2 separate regions of the Homo sapiens genome follow, and region 2 is linked to region 1. The links are contacts of gene promoters, found by promoter capture Hi-C in blood cells and fetal thymus (Javierre and others, 2016). All regions are on one chromosome and are shown on one strand. The core of a region is centred on a gene start or on the middle of the fragment in contact, and the rest is flanking DNA. Distances in the headings are between cores, read along the strand shown. Region 1 holds the start of OSGIN2 (oxidative stress induced growth inhibitor family member 2). Region 2 overlaps LOC124901975 (a long non-coding RNA gene).

What was found. The method cuts DNA at HindIII sites, captures the fragments that hold promoters and counts their contacts. A CHiCAGO score of 5 or more calls a contact.
Region 2: a contact is called between a fragment that was not itself captured here and the fragment with the promoter of OSGIN2 in region 1, in 1 of 17 cell types (total CD8 T cells). The highest score is 5.8, in total CD8 T cells.

The regions. Positions count from the first base shown.
Region 1 is chr8:89,899,467-89,906,424 of GRCh38, forward strand. OSGIN2 (oxidative stress induced growth inhibitor family member 2) reads left to right here and starts at 3,104. Exons shown (of 6, transcript NM_001126111.3): 1 at 3,104-3,371. The coding sequence starts at 3,328. LOC124901974 (a long non-coding RNA gene) reads right to left here and starts at 2,940. Exons shown (of 2, transcript XR_007061001.1): 1 at 2,553-2,940. It also overlaps the pseudogene RNU6-925P. RefSeq lists enhancers at 983-1,748, 1,749-2,514 and silencers at 2,808-3,106, 2,856-3,195, 3,226-3,675, 4,669-4,728. The HindIII fragment of the contact is 4,461 bases long and covers 115-4,575 here.
Region 2 is chr8:90,456,535-90,463,492 of GRCh38, forward strand. The region is part of intron 3 of LOC124901975 (a long non-coding RNA gene); the gene reads right to left. Among named protein-coding and RNA genes, the nearest start is that of LINC01030, 150 kb to the right of the region's middle. The HindIII fragment of the contact is 2,255 bases long and covers 2,246-4,500 here.

The DNA of each region.
Region 1 (6,958 bases), core at 1,854-4,353:
AAAAAAAAGAAAAAAAAATTAAAAGAAAATTTAGCTAGGTGTGGTGGTGCACACCTCTAGTCCCAGCTACTCAGGAGGCTGAAGTGGGGGGATTACTTGAGCCCAGGAGTTCGAAGCTTCAGTGAGCTAGATCAAACCACTGCATTCCAGCCTGGATGACAGAGCAAGAACCTATCTCTCAAAAAAAAAAAAAATTTAAAATGGGCAAAAGATGTGAATAGACATTTACCAAAAGAAGGCATACAAATGACAAATAAGTATATGAAAAGGTGCTCAACATCACTCATCATCAGAGAAATGCAAATCAAAACTACAATGAGATATCATTTCATCATAATTAAAATGGCCTATATCCAAAAGACAGGCAATAACAAATGCTGATGAGGATGTGGAGAAAAGAGAACCCTTGTACACTGTTGGTGGGAATGTAAATTAGTACAGCCACTACGGAGAATAGTTTGGATATTCCTCAAAAAGCTAAAAATAGAGCTACCACATGATCCAGCAATGCCACTGATAGGTATATACCCCAAAGAAAGGAAATCAGTATATCCTAAGATATACTTGCACTCCCATGTTTATTGCAGCACTGTTCACAACAGCCAAGATTTGGAAACAACCTAAGTGTCCATCAATAGACAAATAAAGAAAATGTGGTTTATGTACACAACGTAGTAGCATTCAGCCATAAAAATGAATGAGATCCTGTTATTTTCAACAAAATGGATGCAACTGATGTCACTACTTTAAGTGAAATAGGCCAGGTACAGAATGACAAACTCTGCATGTTCTCACTTATTTGTGGGAGCTAAAAATTAAAACAACGGAACTAACAGAGAATAGAATGATGGTTACAAGGCTGGGCAGGGTAGTGGGGAATTAAGGGGCAGAGTGGGGATGGTTAATAGGTACAAAAGTATAGACAGAATTAGATCTAGTATTTGACAGCACGAGAGTGACTAGTCAACGATAATTCATTGAACATTTTAAAATAACTAAGTATAATTAGATTGTTTGTAGCACAAAGAAAGGATAAATATTTGAGGTGATGGATACTCCATGTACCCTGATGTGATTATTACTTATTGTATGCCTGTATCAAAATCTCATGTACCCCATAAATATATATACCATGTACTCACAAAAAATAAAAATTAAAAATTAAAAGAATTATCTGGATTGGACTGGCATAGCTTTCAGGAATTTATATGTTTATTTTTAATTTTTTTGGTTACATAGTAGGTGTATATATTTAAAAATACGGAACGCTTCACGAATTTGCGTGTTATCCTTGGGAAGGGGCCATGCTAATCTTTATATTATTCTAATTTTAGTATATGTGCTGCAGAATTAAGCACTGCTTTTAGGAATGTAGGTACTTTATTTATTTATTTTTGAGACGGAGTCTCGCTCTGTCGCCCAGGCTGGAGTGCAGTGGCGCGATCTTAGCTCACTGCAAGCTCCGCCTCCCGGGTTCACGCCATTCACCATGGTCTCGATCTCCTGACCTCGTGATCTGCCCGTCTCGGCCTCCCAAAGTGCTGGGATAACAAGCGTGAGCCACCGCGCCCGGCCAGGTACTTTATTATTATTTTTTGATACGGAGTCTCACTCTTTGGCCCAGGCTGAGTGCAGTGGCGCGATCTCAGCTCACTGCAACCTCCGCCTCCCGGTTTCAAGCGATTCTCCTGCATCAGGCTCTTGAGTAGCTGGGATTACAGGCGCGTGCCACCACGCCCGGGGCTAGGTTTTGTATTTTTAGTAGAAACGGGTTTCACCATGTTGGTCAGGCTGGTCTGGAACTTCTGACCTCAGGTGATCCGTCCGCCTCGGCCTTCCAAAAGGAATTTAGGTACTTTAAAATGCTGTTATGTATGTTAACGGAAAAGTAACTACATGCTTCATTTTCAGAACCAACATTCAAATGAAATGAACGTGTCAAATCGACAAAAGCTCAAAAAAGAGAAAAACATATAATACTTAAAAGTGGTTAATATACTCTTAGATTGCATAACTCTGGGGCAGTCTGAGTCCTATGATTTTCTTTTAAGACCCCAAGACTCTAAAATACCTGCTCATCACAAGTTTGTTCAGTGACAACATTCAGTAAAACTTAACATTTGTTTTACAAAATTATGTTGAAAGATATAAACATAAACGTATATTTGAAGCACAAAAATAATTACGGCTTTTTTTGGAAGCGGAGTTAGACATTTCCGTAGAAAAGTAGATGCAATCAATCTCTCCTGATTTTTGTCCTCCCCACCTTTAATTTTTGACAAACCGAATAACGACACTCACTATTGAGTACTTTTCTAACTCCCTATTGCATCACAAACGCCCGCAGGGGCTTAAAAAGCAGCAGGGGTTCCTGCCCTTCCCCACACTGGCCGGTGTGGTCTGGGGCGGGCCTGATGAGCACCTGGATTTTCACCCGGCGTGCTGGTAATTCCTACACTTGTGGGTGTTTGAGAGACATGAAGAGGGGAGGATGACCTCTTCCCGGAAGCGGGACTTCCATAAAAGAAGCGTGGTGGGCGGGTCCCGGGCACCTGTGGTTTGGTGAGTCCTCCAGGTAACTGTGATGCGGGGGTCAGCGGGAGAGGCACCCGGAAGCTCCCGGCGTCTGCACCCCGGCAGCGCGAGGAAATGCCCAAAGGTGGGTTCTCAGGCGTGGGAAGCTCGACCCTTCCCGGGGTCCTCGGCGAAGTGGCCGAGGCCGCGCCTTACGCAGGGAACTCCGCCGGGCCATCTGGGTGGCCCGAGTTCGCAGCAGCTTCTCTTCCGCTCGTCCCTCGGCCCTCTCGACGCGCACCCACCGGCCTCACCAAGTCGCACGCAGAGGGGCGGCGGGGCGCTGACCGAGGTCTAGGTCTCGATTGCCGCCGGTCGAGCCGCGCAGTTTGCCTGCAGACCTCGGTCCCCTGCCCGCGCAGCCTCGGCTCCATCAGGCCCGGCCCCTCGCCCGGGCCGTGGCTCCACCAATCGCAGACTTCGCCCGCCGCAGCCGCACCTGCGAGGAGGGGCCCGCGCGCCGCTGCAGCCGCCGTCGCAGCGTCCCCGCCCCGCTCCGCCCCTATCGCGGCGCCCCGAGATCACCCGCCTCCGGCGCCTGGCTCCCTGCAGGCGAGGAGCGGAAGCCGCTATCTGGAGGCGGACTCCGGCGCCACAGAGCCGGGGCAGCCGCGGCAACGGCGAGGCGCGAGGCAGGGGCGCCCGGCAGACCCCGCGACCCCGAGCCAGCGGGCGCCCCGAGCGGGCAGCCTCGCCGGGGGAGGCGGAGGCGGCCACGGCGGCCGCGCTCGGGCGCCCCTCGCGCAGCGCTCCATGCCCGTGTGGTGCTGCCGCTGCTCCCTGGCCGGTCATTTCAGGTGACTTCCTCGCCGGGGATGGGAGGGGAGCAGGCGGGGATGCCGCGCTCTCGAGCTTTTTGGCCTGGCCCGGGCCGGGACCGGGGTGGAGGGCGAGCGCCTGGACCGCAGCGTCCTCCCGCCTCGGCCGTCCTGCCTGGCGTGGGGGTGGGGTGGGGTGCGGTGTGGTGGGGTCCTTGCTCCGGGGAGCCCTGCGCTGTTCCCTTTTCTCGCTCTGGACCGCGCGGGTCACGGGACTGCGGGATCGGCTAGGCCGGACTGAGTCGGTTACGGCGAGCTGAGACTTCCCAGTAGTGCAAAGTTTTAGTGAAGGGGGTTCTACGAAGTGCCTGCCTCCCTAAAAAAAAATTATTTCTTAAAAAGTCTTCTAAATAATGTAATGAGTGGAAGGAAGGTAGGGAACTACATTTCAGTGTCATCTAATCACAAATAGATTCTGCCTTGTTAAGATGTTAGCCATGGTAAGACGTGTGTGTTGTAGAAATTTAAAGAATGAGGCGGTTTTACAATCACCTTATGGGGAAAGGTTTTAGGGGTGATAAAATATAATACATTTCTAAAATAAAAGTATGTTTTCTAGATCTAGCACATTTGGTCAACACCTCAGTCATTGGTGGAAAGACCAGACACTAGAAACTGATTTTAACCCTGGGGTGAAGAATGGTTAAGCATAGGGAATACTTTAGTACCTTGCTTTACATATACTGATGTTCCAGAATAATTCTATGTAAGACTTCTTCCCTGGTAAAATATGAAATTTTGATCAAGCCTTCCTAAATAGTGGGTTTCATACAATTTAGGTAACCCATGAACTTGGATGGAAAGAAAGGTATATCATTTCACTAAATTTTAAAAACTAATATTCAGTTAAAATATAAGCAACAAATCACAGTAGTATCTGTGACTGTCATCAGTAGAGATCATAAAATATGTTTATATCACATTGCAGTTAATATAGAAATACTGTTTATACTTATTCAAAATTATAGTAACACATCACTGAATTTATTGAATGCAACAGAGAAGCACATATATATATCGCGTTTACTTTTTATGACTGTTTTAATAGAATTAGTTTTCTTGTAAATCCTGTGTATATTTAAGAACAGTATTCAGAGAAGAGGTTAAGAAGCGTCATCCTATAGTAAAAGAGATGTAAGGCATAGAGAAAGTTTGGAACTTCTTTTGTAACAGCGATAATCCAAGCTTGTCTAACCTCTCAGTGAGTTTAGAATGAGTCTCTAGGTTGTGGATATTAAGGAAAAATTGTTTCATATAATAAACTGCTTGATTTTAACTTTTAGGCAAATTTGTTGACTACTGAGACAGCGGTTTGAAGGTATCAGATTCACTATGGAAACTTTTAGGAAATAGGTTCCCCTAGTGAAACTTGTTAAACTAAATAAAGCCCATGAGAATCTAACATGCCTTTCAGAAAATATTGTGTGAAAGCTATTTGACACCTTTTGATGCACAGTGTAGGATTCATATTCTTTTGACTAATACTGGGTGTTGAATACCATTTGCTTCCTGCCGTGCACAGAAATTTGGAGTAGGGAGTGAAAACAAAGTATTTGCTATGTTTTGGTCTGGAGGGACAGAAAGAAAAACAAGCTAGCTGCCAAAGATAAACATTATGATTAATAAACCACACTTTTTATTGCAAAAACAGTTCTGTTGTGTCTAAAGTATTTTTTTTTTTAGTTGTTTACCAGCTCCTTCAGGAATATGTTTCTGATTTACCAGTGCTATTTCTCGAGCAGTTTCAGGTCAGTTCAGGTCATCCTGGCCAACATGGTGAAACCCCGTCTCTACTAAAAACTCAAAAATTAGCCGGGCAGGGTGGTGTGCACCTGTAATCCCAGCTACTCGGGAGGTTGAGGCAGGAGAATAGCTTGAACCCAGGAGACACGTTGCAGTGACCTGAGATCGCACCACTGCATTCCAGCTGGGCGACAGAGTGAGACTGTCTCAAAAAAACAAAAAACACACAAAAAAACACAGATTATAAAACAGGTTGTGACATCTATTGTCTAACATCTGAATGGATAAGTAGTGAGAGAACTGTCCACTAACTTTCCAAAGGAAAAAACCTCTTCCTTCGTGTTCTGGAAGATGAAGAGTGTGACTGACTTCATTTGTGGCTTTAGAACCTTCTTTCCATGTGGTAGTATAAATTTGGTAAATTTTAGGTTCATGGTTCCAAAGACTATAAAAATTCAGTTAGTAAAGCATTTCATTTTAGTTTGAATGATCATTTAAACAAGTACTGCTATGGTATGGAAAAAGTCTTTTTGTTATCCTGATACTATGTCCACACTATCCTTTGAAATGTTCTCTGAAACTTTGTGCTGTAATGTTTCAAAAACAAAAAATGGAAGGCCTCTAAAAGCATCTTAAATGTCAAATAGGCTTTTAACTTGCTTCCTAACAATAGAGTAACTAATTTTGCATGTAAAGTGCTGTTCTTTACTAGTTGCTAAATGTAATTGTACATATTTTCCAATTTTAATTTGTGCCTCGAAGAAAAAGTAGATTTTTATTACTCAAAATAAGCTCTTGTTTTAAATAGAACAAATATCAAATTGGAAATCTAGAGATTAACACTGTTCATAGACCTGTGATATACTGTGCATGTACTATAAAACATGTACAGCAATACTAAATTTATAACTTAAGCTCTGAATTTTTTAGAAAGAATAATTACTAAAAGTCTTGTTTCATTAATGTTTTATGTAAAACCAGTGAATCACACTTTCCGTTTTTGTTTCCTTGTTTTTCTTTGTGTTAAACCACTATCAAATAGGAGGCAGGTTTACTACAAATAGTTTATCACAGAGTTTATACCAGTGGCTCCTGAAAAATCAGAGCAGATTACCTATACTATGTAAATTTAGATAAGCTAATGTGTAGAGAATTTGGATAAACTAAACTTTGGTTCTTCATTGCTTGAGGGCTGCACATGCAAAAAACTACTAGACCTAATATATAAATTCAACGGTGTTGCAGGATGCAAAATCAACATACAAAAGTGAATTGTATTTCTGTACATTAACACTGAATAATTTAAAATGAAATTAACAAAGGTATTTCATTTATATAATAGCATCAAAAAATGAAATACATAAGAATAAATTTAATAAATGCAATACTTATGCACTGAAAACTACAAAATGTTGAGAGAAATTAAAGGTCTAAATAAATGGAAAGGAATTCTATATTCATGGATTGAAAAACTTAATATTCTGTTTTTTCTTTTAAGTACAGGGATGCAAGTTCAGGTTTCTTACATAGGTAAACATGTGTCATGGGAGTTTGTTTCATCACGCAGGTATTAAGCCTAGTACCCATTAGTTCAGGGGTGTCCACTCTTTTTGCTTCCCTGGACCACATTGGAAGAATTGTCTTGGGCCACACATAAAATACACTCACATTGATGATAGCTGATGAGCTTAAAAAAATGGCAAGAAAATCTCATAATGTTTTAAGAAAGTCTACGAATTTGTGTTGAGCCACATTCAAAGCCATCCTGGGCCGCATGTGGGTTGAACAAACTTGCATTAGTTGTTTTTCTTGATCCTCTCCCT
Region 2 (6,958 bases), core at 2,123-4,622, 560 kb after region 1:
TTCAGGCCTTTTAAAACTGAGGATTTTTTCTCTGGAAATGGTTAATTAAATCAGTGAGGAGAGAAAATATTAACAGGATCTACTCAAAATATATGAAAACATATGTCCACAAACAATCAACCAACCAACAAACAAAAACTTGAAGAATAATAATCTTCAAAACATTCTTCATAGTGGCCCCTAAATGGAAAAAATCCAAATGGTCATCAAAAGAAAAATGAGTAAGAAACTGTACTATATTCATACAATGGACTACTACTCGGCACACAAAGGGGAATGAACTACTGATGAAGGCATTAACATGGATGAACCTCAATATATTTATGTTGAGTAAAAAATACAGGAAGAAGGAAGTACATATTATATGGTTCCATTTACAGAAAGTTCTAGAACAGGCAAAACCATCCATGGTGATATAAATCAGGATGAGATTGCCTCTGGGAAGGGAGAGGGAAATAATCGACTTGAAAGGTCATAACCCAGAGAGTAACACAATAAAATATAACACAATAAAATATAAGTGCTCTCATAGGAGACACTGTGATATTTTAAATGATTGCTGAAAGAACTAATATTCTTAAGAATAAAATACTATGAAATCCAGGCCCTCTGGGCTTTTAATGATGAAAAAAATATTCTGTCTTCTGGGGAACCCAAAAACTAACTTTAGTCTACTAAGTGTCAACAAAGTTGTAAATGTCAATTAATGAACTGTCAATCTTGACTCATAGCCTCAATATTTTTTTAGTTGTTCTTTGGGACCAGCATTGATCAAATGAAGAAGCAATTTCCCAATTCCTTCTCTTGAACTTTTATTCTCTCTGGTTTATTTTGTAATTGACTTTTATTTTATACATGTTAAACCACCCTTTTCCTTATAACTTAAAGACAAGAATATAAATTTGAATTATAATTTACATTTTCTTGAGATGTTGGCTAGATAGACAGCTTTAATTTTTCTTTCATTAATGAATACTTAAATTTAGTTTATACCTTTTACACAAAGACACAGGTAGGATTTAGGAATGGATTTTATTCTACTTTCAAATATTGGCTTTGTCATTGTAATTCTGTATTTGTCAGGTTCAGAAGTAGTTATGTGACTTTTGAGCCACCTGGTACCACTGCTTTAGTTTGGGAGGAGCTGCAGAAATAGAATCCAGCGTTTTCAGACCAATCATTCCTGATTCTGACTTTTAGTTCAATCTTAGACATCTGTCATGTGAGTTTACAGTGAGAAGATGGCCATCTATGAACCAAGAAGTAGGCATTGTCCAGACACCAAATCTGCTGGCACCTTGATCTTGGGACTTCCCAGCCTCCAGAACTGTGAGAAATAAATTTATGTTGTTTATAAGCCACTCAGTTGGCTGGGCGCAGTGGTTCACGCCTGTAATCCCAGCACTTTGGGAGGCCAAGGCGGGCGGATCACAAGGCCAGGAGATCGAGACCATCCTGGCTAACATGGTGAAATCCCGTCTCTACTAAAAATACAAAAAAATTAGCCGGGCATGGTGGCGGGCACCTGTAGTCCCAGCTACTCGGGAGGCTGAGGCAGGAGAATGGCGTGAACCTGGGAGGCAGAGCTTGCAGTGAGCCGAGATCACACCACTGCACTCCAGCCTGGGCGACAGAGGGAGACTCCATCTCAAAAAAAAAAAAAAAAAAAGCCACTCAGTTTATAGTATTTTGTTAGAACAACCCAAATAGACTAAGACAGACATTTGTGTATAATTTCTGACATATTAAAATGGATGCAACATCAAAGACTAAATTTAATTACACTAGAAGTAAGCCAGCCATGTATTCAAAAATTGCATGTGTTTCATCAAATGTTGAGTTTTAGAAGGAGCTATGGACCAAAAGCAAGACTTGTAACACAAGTCTGAATTTCACCCCTTGTTGGCTGTGTGAACTTACACACTTCCTATAAATTCTCTAGGCCAAGTTTCATAAACTTTCTTTCTTCCCAGTAAGTTAGGGTTGAGGTTGAAAATTTGGGCATTAGGTCAGGTAGTCTGATTATGGATAAGTTATGAAAGCTTAATAAGTGATAATGGTGACATAATATATTACAAAACACTTAGCATACTGGTCAATAAAAAAGTGGTAGCTATAATTATTGTTCATAGCCATTTAATTATTATTCATAACAAAACAATATAGAATTACATAATTGGTACTTTATCATTATTGCAGAAATGTGTTGACTGGAATAATAAAATCACTAATAGCATGGATGTAAAGCTTGGCCAAACACCAGGCCTGCAGTGACAACTAAAGAGAACTTGTCAAAAAGATACTCAAGAGGCTGCTATTCAGGGAACCCATAGGGGCACAGCAGGATTCACTGTTGCAAGGATACCACGTTAAGTACAGGCAGGTATTATTTGCCAGCCCAATTTGCAGCAATCAGGACTCAGCGATGGTCTCCTAGGGCCAGTCATCACTGAGATGTCTAGGCCCTGAGGCACTTGGTGCTGTTGCTACCACATGTAACAAGAAATAAAGATACTTGGTGGAGACTTTGCAACATAATGTACCCAATATTTTAAATCTTTTATTTTGCAACATAAAATACATCACATTTTACCTACCTAAATCAATAGAGAATGTTATTTGCTGTATCATATATCACAGCCACCAAGGTTGGATGATGAGCTACAGCCAAGAATTCCTACCCAGGGTGGGAGATTGGACCAGTTGGAATGTAAAGATTTCCTCAGACTCGAGATTCTGTGATTATATAATCATTGAAAGTTCAAAATTATTTTCAACTAAAGCAGTTATCATGAAACCTGTCACCAATTACTAAGTTCTACAGTCACTACATATATATACGCACATATATTAATTAATTAAATATATATGTACTTAATTCTGGAAAGAAAAAGGATGCAGCTGACTCTAATTGTGGCTGCTTGGATGAGAGTCACACGTGAGTTAGTAAACATGATGCATGGTTTGAAAAAGCGGATTAAGCTCTGTTAGAATTAAATGATTATTTTCTTGGAAAATATGTTAGTGACAGGTAAATCAAAATTAGGTTGCTGAGTAAGGCCCCAGACTACACTAAAGGGCTTTGACAATACTAATCAATATTTATTACACTATATTGACTTTAAAAAATTAAATTTTAAAAAATTAACCACAATGAAGTTAGGATACATCTTAAAAGCAATGACAACTCAAAATTACCATCAGTCATGGGATAGACATGATACAGTTGTGTGAAAACCTTTTGGTAAGATAAAGAAAACTCCAGCATCAATATGTATGAAATTTGATGAAATACAGGTCAGTGCCCAGGGGTATAATGTGGCAGTAATGGGAGCACTATGCAGAATGTTCCAGTCTGCTTGTTCTTTCCTGAACTGGATGGGCTTTTTGGGCAGTAAAAGAGGTCATGAAAAGTTTGTTGTAGACAAAACACAGACGAGCACAGTGGGTAAAGTTGTGGGCTTTGGATATAGAGAGCTCACTCCAAGTGCCTCTCCTGCCATTCACTAGCACTATGTATTTGCCATGCTCTTTAATCTCTGCACATCAGTTTTTTTTTTTAAGTGGAAATGCTAAAAATAGTACTTAACTCATTGATATGTAAGAATTAAATAAGATTATCCATTTCAGAGTTTAGCTTAGTGGGACACAGTAAGAATTCAATAAATATAAGCTCATTGAGCTTTCTAATGCTTTTGTGCAAAAGCCATATTTAGGAAACAAGGCTCAAGGGCTGCGTCAGCTCCTGCCTACGGAGTTGACATTTGTTGACTCTGGACACAAGAATGGAAATGTGAAAGTACAATTTACGCAAAGATCTGATTGAGTTTGTGGACAAGCAACCCATGACATAATTTTGATAGCTGATTATTGCTCAGTAAGTGATTTGACTCTTGAAAAAGAATGCTTTTATTAATCCACTGTTAAACTGCAATTATTAGCTAGTATTGAAATTTATATTCTTCCTGTTAAGTAACCCCCAAACCTAAAAATTTAGACCAGAACCAAATATTTCAATTTTTACAGCACACCAGTGCTGTAAAATACTTTGTCTCATTTAGCTTTAGGTCAGAATAGCTACATATTGCTAAGGCAATGAATGATGGTTACCAAGTGTTTATAAAGTCCTTGTACAAGTTTAAAATCAAATAACTTTGAATGGACACAATGGAGACAACTGTAAGCACCATATGGAAGCATATGATTAACATGCTAATATTCTGAATGCACATTTTAATGTTTTATTTTATTCACAAATCATACACAATGGCTGTGAATACTTTTTTGAGAGCGCACCAGTTGGTGAATATTCTTTCATAATGTTGCAGTATTTCTTTATTATGAACCATGAAAATGGGGCCTTTCCAACAGCAACTTCCTCAAGCAGCAATGTGCTTACTTACAGGATGCTTCAAATATGCAACAAAAGAATGATAATGACTTTTCAAGAGGAGCGAATTTGTAGGAGGACAGAATTGCTTATCCATATACTTTCACCCAAGCTTTCCCATTTGGATAATTTCTATTTCAAGGAGTTATCTTAACCCTATGAAATGCATCATAGCCATAAAAAAATCAAATGCTTGAGATCAGTAACTCAAATTTAATTCAGGACATAGCATCAACTGGAGAGTACTTGAGCAAGTTGGAAAATCAGAATTCAAGGTGTTTTATTACAGATCTCACAGTGTGCAGTTCTCACTAGTTATTCACCTCCAGAAGGAAGTCCATCCTCTAGGAGGCTCTTCTAAACATGCATAGGCATAGTGTGGAAGCCATCACACTCTTAATACCACACTATATATTTGAGGCTTTGATCAGATTTAAATAAAGACAGTATTAGAATGAAAACCTTACTAGATTTTATTGTTTGTTACCCATCAGAAAGCAGAGCAATTATACACAAAGCTACATATTTGAGCCATGGTCTTAAAAAAATCTGTAAAGTATATGTTCAAGTGACATTCACAACTTTTTTTTTATCAGGAGTACATAGGTGTTTCTGAAACTCAATTTCACATATTCAATACACTACAACCTGAAAGGACACGGATTTTTCTGCTTGAACATAGCAATGAAATTTCTTAGCTAAATCTTTTAGGCACATGTTTTCCTTCTAATTATAGGTGTTCTAATATGTACATTGTTATTTTACTGCTAAAAAATTACCATTTGTTGAGCTATTACTATGGGTCAAATGCTGAGTTAAGTGCTTAATGAATATATTTGCTCGAAAAATATCCACAATGTCTCTATGAGGTGGTTATTTCTTTTATCAGATGAAGAAGAGTAAAGACTGTTTAAGCAGCCTGTTAAAGGCCAGCCATGAGGCTATAACTGACAGAATGGAGAGTCAAACCCAAGACTGAGATGGCCATGTATACTGTGAAAAAGAATTTGGGTTTTTTAAAAAATGCCGTGAATATTAAGCAGGTTACTGAAGGTGTTTTGGCAAGAGAGAAAGAGAAGAGAGTCTGTATCTTGAATATACCCAAAACCCCACCTGCAGGAATGATAAAATCCTTGGGCTAGAAAAAACATGAAGCTCATTGGCACAAAATGTCATGATGTTCATCTTTCCAGGTCCCATGTCACTCTCTGCTACAGAATACTAGCAATATGTACTCCTTGCTTTCCTAGAAGAACATGATAATAAGATCTTTCTGCCTCCCTTTGCAGTATTGTTTGCAGCCACTCATCACCCCACTGGCTGCTCCCCAGACACCTGAGTAGCTTTCTGTTCCACACACTCGCCAGTATCTTGTGTATGTATTGCAGGATCTGTATACACAGTTCCCTGTGCCTAGACTTGTTAGCACCTCTTCGTCCTTCAGATCTGGGTTGTCCTTCCCCAGCATTCTATTTTCTCTCACAAGGTCTTAGTTTGAGTTCCCCTGAGTTCCTCACTAACCTATGAGCCCTGAAACAATGAGAACCCAGATTTTTGTGCATCATTGTTTCCTTAGCAGCCTGACCATGTTTCCTGGCCTGTAATCAGAACACAATAAATGTTGCTGACTGAAAAAATGTAATTGATTTAAGCTTCCCTACAAATCTTTCAATTTATGTTAATTGTGAGAAGCTCAGCATCTTCTCAAGGGCTTTTTCTCATCCCCGCAGTGGAAGCCTCTTTAAGCAAGTCTCTCTTCTCTGCATATGTAGGCTTTAGCTCTGGGGAACCTCAGCCTTCTCTGTCTTCAAGTTAGGGGTGATCAACCTACAAAGTACCTTGTGTCTTCTCTGAGAATCACATTCCTTTTCTGCTGGGATTCTCTTTACCAGAAGAGGTGGATTCACTCCCCAGTTATCGAGGATCACTTGTGCAGGAGTCAGAATTGTCATTCTCATAGTGGCATCTTTGATCATTCAATAGCTTACTCTTGGACCCATCGTACAAAATTAAGGAACAAAATAATCCAAAAATAGTCATGGTTTGCACTGTCTTCTAAGTTTCAAGCACAATAATTAGGTATGGGAGACTCGTGCATTCATCAAACCTCACTAGACATTAGGCTCTTGGAATGCTAGGATGACTTGTCATTCTCATCCTCCTCCTCATCATCATCACTGTCATCACCAAAAATAACAGTTATCATTTTTAAACACCTACTATGTACAAAGGACTGTACTAGAACTTTTATCTATTTTGTCCTTACAACAGCTTTATAGAATGGGCATCAGCCCTCTTTGAAAATGAAGACATTTCTGCTGAGAGTGAATTATCTAGCCCAGGTCACTGAGCTAGTACATGAAAGGGCTGTACTGCCTTTCATCTTTTAATACCCAGCAGCTAGCACAATGCCTGGCATGTAGCAGGCACTCACCCAGTAGAAACTGAGTGCCAGGGCTTCACCACATGCTGGGATACAGTGAAACTCAAAATAAAGTAAATGACCCCAACCTCTGCCTGTCATGGGCTACTTTACCTGTGCCTACAGCCACCCTATGCTATGCTAGA